Regions from separate parts of the Homo sapiens genome. Here regions 2 and 3 are each linked to region 1. The links are contacts of gene promoters, found by promoter capture Hi-C in blood cells and fetal thymus (Javierre and others, 2016). All regions are on one chromosome and are shown on one strand. Each heading gives the region's core, a stretch centred on a gene start or on the middle of the fragment in contact. The rest is flanking DNA. Distances are from core to core; before and after follow the strand shown. Region 1 holds the start of ROS1 (ROS proto-oncogene 1, receptor tyrosine kinase). Region 2 has its middle 60 kb from the start of SLC35F1. Region 3 has its middle 16 kb from the start of SLC35F1.

Region 1 (2,824 bases), core at 139-2,638:
TATTACGTTAAGTGAATTGAGCTAGGCACAGAAAGGCAAGCATTGCATGTTTTCACTTATTTATGGGATCTAGAAATCAAAACAATTGAATTCATGGACAAAGAGAGTATAAGGATGGTTGCCAGAGGCTGGGAAGGGTGGTGGTGGGTGGGGTGGGGGATGGGAGATGGGGACAGTTAATGGGTACAAAAAATGTAGAAAGAATAAATAAGACCTACTATTTGATAGCACAACAGGGTGACTACAGTCAATAATAACTGTACATATTAAAATGACTTAGAACATACTTGGATTGTTTGCAACTCAGTGGATAAATGCTTGAGGGGATGGACACCCCATTCTTCATGATGTGCTCATTTCACATGGCATGTCTGTTTCAAAACATCTCCTGTACCCCATAAATACATACACCTACTATGTACCCACAAAAATTAAAAAACAAACAAACAAAAATCCAATCAAAAGACGTTCAGCTCAAAACAAAACCTCATGCATGTGTTACTCATAGGGAGAACCTTATATCATTAAGAAAAGGTTAAGTTACATTTAGTATAATTTATTTAAGAAAACAAGGAGGTTGGCCTGTTGTACCGCGGTGGCTCACGCCTGTAATCCTAGCACTTTTGGAGGCCGAGGTGGGCGGATCACGAGGTCAAGAGATCGAGACCACTCTGGGCAACATGGTGAAACCCCATCTCTACTAAAAATACAAAAATTAGCTGGGCATGGTGGCGGGCGTCTGTAGTCTCAGCTACTCGGGAGGCTGAGGCAGGAGAATCGCTTGAACCTGGGAGGCGGAGGTTGCAGTGAGCTGGGATCATGCCACTGCACTGTAGCCTGGGCGACAGACAGAAATTCAGTCTCAAAGAAAGAGAGAGAGAGAGAGAGAGGAAGGAAGGCAGGCAGGAAGGAAGCTTGTACAATGTTTCCTTCTCAAAGCAGACACTTGAACATATCTTAGGTTTCTGGTAACTAGTTTCAGCTGTCTCGATAGACCTGATAAGTCAGTATTTTAGTTAATATGTAGTAAAGTTCTGAGAGTACTCTAACCAACTTCCTTGTTTTTAACTCTCTCCCAGGGTATTTGTCTATTAATTTCAGCTTTGTTTGCTCTTAAATTTAAAAATATGTATTTGGCTTCTGAGTTCTGTTTTCTCTCTCAGTTGCATTGCTTGATTTGGGTGCCTCTATTTTTCCAATAATTCTTTATTATAATAGTGCTACTGTTTGCTAAAGCATACGTGGTCAAAACCCAATTCCCTGCAGAGCTGAAAAGAGCTCAGAGAAGTAAGGTGGTGGACGACCCACTGAAATGTTCCAGTTTCAGACTGCATGTGTCACACCCTTGCTGAAATACAATTCGTTTTCTTTAATTTCCATGTGAAGTGCACTTCTAAGAACTAACCTTTAGTCACTGGGTGACTTTATGGGAGTAAAAGGAAGCTGTTATGAAATAGCTCTTATGGAACTGTTACAAGCTTTCAAGCATTCAAAGGTCTAAATGAAAAAGGCTAAGTATTATTTCAAAAGGCAAGTATATCCTAATATAGCAAAACAAACAAAGCAAAATCCATCAGCTACTCCTCCAATTGAAGTGATGAAGCCCAAATAATTCATATAGCAAAATGGAGAAAATTAGACCGGCCATCTAAAAATCTGCCATTGGTGAAGTGATGAAGAACATTTACTGTCTTATTCCGAAGCTTGTCAATTTTGCAACTCTTGGCTGCCTATGGATTTCTGTGGTGCAGTGTACAGTTTTAAATAGCTGCCTAAAGTCGTGTGTAACTAATCTGGTAAGTCTCACAATCTAATATTTGTCTTTGCAGGAACTAGAACATGTAGCATTCAGCTTGTTATAACTGATAGAATTGTTTTCTCTTTATGAGGAGTTTTCTTATGAGAAGTGGTGGCAACAAGGCAAGATAGATTATTTTTTCTTAAATAAGTTAGGAGCCCTTATAATTGCAGAAGATAAAGCAGGCTATTTTATTTCTTTAGGGTATGTGGTCATATATTTTTTGGGCTAGAGGACTGGGTAAAGGAGGTTTAAATGGAATCAATTTTGCCAATTTTGCACACTTAAAAACTTTCTATTTAAACTTATTTATTACAAAGTCATTAGTAGTTGTCTTGAAACCTGAAATCGGTTTGGCCACAGGATAATGCCTGCTAATTCCAGCTGTGTAGGGAGCTGGATGAAAAAGGAAGCAGATACAGTTGCCATGTAAAATAATATTTTAAAGCAATAATTATTTGTACATTTCTTTATTTCTGTTTGTGCATTTATTATTTTAGTTAGTGAGTTTTTTATATGGAAATTCATGCTTTCATTCTCATTTCTGGGTGTCATCCCTTCTCTAACTATTGTACCATCTCTTTTCAGTTGTAATTTAGTTGTGCTTAAAACAGTCACTGAATTAACTTTAAAAACCAAGTACTCTATAGACAGAGAAAATGCACTCTTCCTGTCTAAAGACAAATAAAATATCATGATAGTTTGCATATGACCCTATCTATAGCCATACTTTTAAACATAATGCAAGTACTAAATATAGTATTCATTATATTATTCTAAAGTATTGGAGATAGAATTATGTGGCAGATTAAAAAGAAACTTGCACTTATACACTTTTGATTTAAACTGTAGTTTAAAACACTACTTAGGTTTACCATGGTTAGTAGCATTTTTTTAAAAGTTTAGTATTTTATATAAATCTTTGCCGAAGACTTCATTGCCTTTAATATAGAATTGCATGCTTTAGTTTTTTATATTTGTAACCCAAACTTAAAAATGGAAGAATGGAACTACTAAATGTTTCAA
Region 2 (2,721 bases), core at 166-2,665, 420 kb before region 1:
AGTATTGATACATGTGGGTCTGATTGTGTCATTGTATTATTGGCTGGTTATCATACAGACTTGTTTGTGTGGTTGCTTCATAGTGTCATTGGTTTGTGTACTTAAGTATGTTTTTGTAGTGGTTGGTAATTGTCTTTTCTTTCCATATTTAGAGCTTCTTTGAGGACCTCTTATAAGGCAGGTCTAGTGGTAACAAATTCCCTTAGCATTAGCTTTTCTGAAAAGGATCTTGTTTCTCCTTCACTTATGAAGCTTAGTTTGGCTGGATATAAAATTCATAGTTGGAATAGTTTTTTTTAAGAATGCTGAATGTAGTTCCCTCCTTAATCCCTTCCAGCTTGTAAGGTTTCTGCTGAAACATCCACTATTAGCCTGATGGGTTTCCCATTTTAGGTGAACTTCCCCTTCTTTCTAGCTGCCTTTAACATTTTTTTCTCTCATTTTGATCTTGGAAATTCTTATGATTATGTGTCTTGAGGATGGTCTTCTTTTGTACCCTGCAGGGGTTATTTGTATTTCCCGGATTTGAATGTTGGCCTCTGTAGTGATGTTGGGGAAGTTTTCATGGGTGATATCCTGAAATATGTTTTCCTAGTTGTTTGCTTTCTCCCTCGCTTTCAGGGATGTCAATGATTTGTAGATTTGGCGTCTTTACATAATTCTATATTTTTAAGAAATTTTGTTCATTCTTTTTTATTCTTTTTCCTTAATTTTTTTCTGAGTTATTTCAGAGAGCCAGTCTTCTAGCTCTGAGATTCTTACCTCAGCTGGGTCTATTCTGCTGTTAATACTTGTGATTTCATTATGCAGTTCTTATAGTGTGTTTTTCAGCTCTATCATATCAGCTTGGTTCTTTTTTATAACAGCTATTTCATATACTGACTCCTGTATTAATTTATTGTGATTCTTAGTTTCCTTGGATTGGGTTTCAACATTCTCCTGAATCTTGATGACCTTCATTCCTACCCATATTCTAAATTCTATTTCTGTCATTTTAGCCCATTTAAGAACCCATGCTGGGGAACCAGTGTGGTTGTTTGGAGGAAAGAAGGCACTCTGGCTTTTTAAGTTGCCAGAGTTCTTGTGCTGATTGATTCTCATTTGTGTGGGCTGATGTTTCTTCAATCTTTGAAGTTGCTGTCCTTTGGATGGTTGTTTTTCCTCTTTTTTCTTCTTTGATGCCCCTTGGGGGTTTGCTTATGGTATAAGGTGGATTCAGTTGACTGGCTTCAATTCTAGTCTATGCCCGAGTCTAAGAGGAACCCTCTCTGATTATTGTCTCTGTGCCTGCATTTCTTTTGTTTGGCGTTCTGGTCCACAGGGCTCTCTCAGGCAGGGGCCACAATTGGCAGACAAGATGTATCCTTACCAGGTCAGTCCTAATCTGCTGTCTGTGTGCTTCCTGAGAAAACATGGGGTTGTGCTTGTCTGCAGAGCTCAGGCAAAAGCAGGACTGCTTGGTTGGAAGCTCTAGCTGGTGTAGGCTGTCAGGCTACAGGAAGTGGGGTGGATGAGTTGCCCACCCTGCTGTCTGGGTGTTTCCAGGGCAACAAGAGGCTGTGCCCCTTGGCAAATTCAGGCAGAACTACAACCACTGAACCAGAAGCTCTAGCAGACATGGCTAGCCTGGCTACCAGTGGCAGGGGTGGGTGGGGACTCCTGTCCTGACATATGGATGCTTTCTGGGACAACAGGAGGTTGTACCCCTCAGCTGAGTTTCCACAGAAGCAGGACCACTGGGCCTGAAGCTCTATCAGGGGTTGCCTGCCTCGTTACCAGTGGCCGGTGTGGACAAGGTCATGTACTCTGCTGTCCATGTGTTTCCCAAGAACAGGAAGCTGTGTCCTCTAGCTGAGTTCACACAGAAGTGGGGCTGCTGGCCCAGAAGCTCTATAAGGCATTGCCTACCTAGCTATCGGTTGCAGGGGTGGGTGGGGTCATGCATCCTGCCATCTGGGTGTTGCCAGGGACAACAGGAGACTGCATCCTTCGGCTGAGTCCCCACAGAAGCAGGACCACTGGGCCAGAAACTCTAGCAGGCACTGTCCACCTGGCTATCAGTGGTGGGGGTGAGTGGGGTTGCCTTCCCTGCCATCCAGGTTCTTCTTGGGACAACAGGAGCCTACACTCACCAGCTGACTTTCCACAATAGCAGGATGACAGGGCCTGAAGCTCTGGCAGGCATTGCCCACCTGGCTACCAGTGGCAGGATTGGGTGGAGTCATGTGCTCCATCATCTAGGTGTTTCCTGAGACAATAGGAAGCTGCACCCTCTAGCTGAGTTCGCACAGAAGCAGGAGCACTGGGCCAGAAGCTCTAGCAAGCACTGCCTTCCTGGTTATTGGTGGTGGGCTTGAATGCGGCCTCATGCTCTGACATCCAGGCATTTCCCAGGACATCAGGAGGCTCTGCCCTCCAGTTGAGTTCACACGAAAGTGGGACTGCTGGGCTGGAAGCTGGTGCCCAGCCCCATCTGGCAAGGGAGAGTGGAGCAATCTCTCTGCTCCTAGGCAGTACAGCTGTGGCCTCTACTGGGGCTATGGCACCAGGGCTGATCTGCTCCAGAGCTCAAAGCTTATAGAGGTCCCCTTGGACTTGAGAGTTGTCCCCCACAAAATGTCCAAGTGGCTATCTGTCTCAGTCTAGAAGCATGATTGGGGAGTGCAGAGGGGCCGGCAAGATTCTACCATTTCCAATCTTGCACAGGTCCCTGTAGAGAGT
Region 3 (2,700 bases), core at 169-2,668, 460 kb before region 1:
TTAAAAGTAAAGCAAAACAAAACAAAACCAATACCTCTCTCAATTCCGTGTTCCATCTAAATGCTTGATCAAGGAGTGTTTTATATTCTGTCTATATTTTCTCTCTCACTCTCTCTCTCTCTCTGTGTGTGTGTGTGTGTGTGTGTGTGTGTGTGTGTGTGTGTGTGTGTTTTGAGACAGGGTCTCACTCTGTCACCAAGGCTAGAGTGCAGCGACATGATCACAGCTCACTGCAGCCTTGACCTGCGGGCTCAAGTGATCCTCCCAACTCAGCCTCCCAAGTAGCTGGGACTATAGGCACACATCTCCACACCTGGCTAATTTTTAAATATTTTTTATGGAGATGAGGTTCCCTTGTGTTGCCTAGGCTGGTCTCAAACTTTTGGGTTCAAGAAATCCTCCTGCCTTGGCCTGCCAAAGTCTTCGGATACAGGTATGAGTCACAGCACCAAGCCTATATTTCCATTTTGCTCTATTCACTCTGTAATCTGCTGAAGGACAGCTTTTGCCCCAATACATCACTGAAATGGATTTCATTAAGGTCACCAAAAACTTTCATATCTCTTGCATTTTCCAAAGCCAATTATATTAGAATTCTCCAGAGAAACAGATCCAATAGAATACATACAGAAGAATATAAGAAGAGATTTATTATTGGCTTTATAATTTGATTTATAATTACATTTATAAAGTTATTTACTTGATTATGGAGGCAAAGAAGTTTCATGATCTGCCATCTACAAGCTGGATACCCAGGAAAGCTGGTGGTATAGTTTAGTCTGAGTCCAATGGCATGAGAATCAGGAGAGCAGATGATGGAACTCCCAGTTTGAGGCTGAAGGCCTGAGAATCAGGACCTTGTATGTTCTCACCATTTTGTTTCATTCAGTCCTTCAACAGATTGGATGATGCCCATCCACTTTGGTGAGGATGGATCTTCTTTACAGAGTCTACTGATATAAATATTAACCTCTTACAGAAATCTCTCACAGACACACCCATAAATCACGTTTTACCAGCTATGTGAGCATCCCTTAGCCCAGTAAAGTCAACTCACAAAATTAGCCATCACACCAATTAACTTTTTTTCTGTTCTTATTTTACCTGAATATTCCAGGGAATATTTGATAATGTTGACATTCTTCTCCTGATTGCTCTATTCTTTCTGCTTCTGGAAGAACATCTCCTTTGTTTTCTCCTATCTCCTTGGTTGTCTGTCTCATCTACAGGCTTTCTTCTCTTTCAAATGCCCCTTAACTGTTGGTTTTATCCAGAGCCTCAAACTTGGTCCTCTACTTTCAATGCATGGTCTCTAGGTGATCTTATCCACCTATATGACTTCAGCTGTCACTCGCTACTTCCAATGGCTCTCTCTAATCAACTTTTTAAATTTTTAAAAATCTATTTCTTTTTCTGAACTGTCTGATAATTCTAATCCCTACACTTCCAAACACATATCAGAAACACTATGTCCCAAACTCCTCCCACTCACCTCCTCCTCCTGCTGTGGCACCTGGCATAGTGAATAACATTAATCCCAAATCAGTTGCTCAAACAGAGTGCTGGGAGATGCCCAAACTGTGCCTTCTCAGTTACCCCACAGTCACCATGGCTTAAAGTATTATCTCCTAAAAAAACCCTTCTCATTCACTCCTATCCTATCACATCACTAAGCCTTGTCCAGGTTCTTGTCATGTCTCAGTCTGGTCACTGCAGTGACCTCTGATTTGGGCTCCCACCAAAGTGCTTTGTCAGAAACACAAATCTTACATTGTCACTTTCTTTCTGTTAGTCCTTCAATGGCTCCATCAGCTTACAGGACCAAGTTCAAATTCCATAGCTAAATGGAAGCTCATTCATGATCTGGCCACTTGCCAACCCCTTTCAGCCTCATTTTTCCTATTCCCTAGTGTGCACTTCCTTTGCTCAGAATGCTCAGTTTCCCTACTGTGTAGTGTTGTTTCATGCCTTTGGGCATTCCCACATGTTGCTCATTCTACATATCTCTCCCTCCTTTCCTGATTCAGCTGACATCTATTAGTTGTTTTTAAAAAACCACCTCAGGAATCACCTCCTCCAGGAAGTTTTTCTTGACACCATAGCCTAATTAGATGCCCTTAGCAGTGTAACCACAGCCTTCTCTAAGTGCACCAAACATAACATCAATTTTTCTATGTATTTATCTGAAGGCTATAAGCTCCTTTAGCTAAAGTACCTTGTCTCATGCAGCTTCTTTCCCAGCACTTAGTACGGTACATGGCATGCAATAAGTATCTGTCAAATAACTGACTGACAATGAAGAAACTGACTTAGGGAATTGTCCTACACATTTTCAAAATCAGATAATGTAAAAAAAAAAAAAAAAAAAAGTTGGAACCAGGCCTTATATACTAGACTTCATTTAAGGTTGGAAATAAAAAGCTAAAAGGAGAGGAAATGTCTCCTGAAGAAATATATTGCCTATTCAAGCCAGAATACACTTTTAAAATAGGCCAAGAGATTTCTAGAAAGCAATGCAGTTAACTTTTTATTTAAACAGAAACTGTTCTTTGCTGTCTTGCCTGTTTTTCTAGACATAAGTAAATGACTCATTCATATACAGAGGCTTATTGAAAATGTATTGTATTCAGAGGTTCTTTCTATTTCTCTTATTGTTTGACCTTGATAGTAAATAGCTATGTGATATTTGTAATGCAGCTA

What was found. Contacts are between HindIII fragments. The CHiCAGO score rates a contact against its expected background, and 5 or more counts as called.
Region 2: a fragment that was not itself captured here is called in contact with the fragment with the promoter of ROS1 in region 1 in 1 of 17 cell types (erythroblasts); the score reaches 5.7 in erythroblasts.
Region 3: a fragment that was not itself captured here is called in contact with the fragment with the promoter of ROS1 in region 1 in 1 of 17 cell types (erythroblasts); the score reaches 6.9 in erythroblasts.

What each region holds. Positions count from the first base shown.
Region 1 is chr6:117,424,506-117,427,329 of GRCh38, reverse strand. ROS1 (ROS proto-oncogene 1, receptor tyrosine kinase) reads left to right here and starts at 1,388. Exons shown (of 44, transcript NM_001378902.1): 1 at 1,388-1,796. The coding sequence starts at 1,674. The HindIII fragment of the contact is 564 bases long and covers 917-1,480 here.
Region 2 is chr6:117,845,630-117,848,350 of GRCh38, reverse strand. No RefSeq gene overlaps it. Among named protein-coding and RNA genes, the nearest start is that of SLC35F1, 60 kb to the left of the region's middle. The HindIII fragment of the contact is 2,322 bases long and covers 255-2,576 here.
Region 3 is chr6:117,889,584-117,892,283 of GRCh38, reverse strand. No RefSeq gene overlaps it. Among named protein-coding and RNA genes, the nearest start is that of SLC35F1, 16 kb to the left of the region's middle. The HindIII fragment of the contact is 5,056 bases long and covers 1-2,700 here.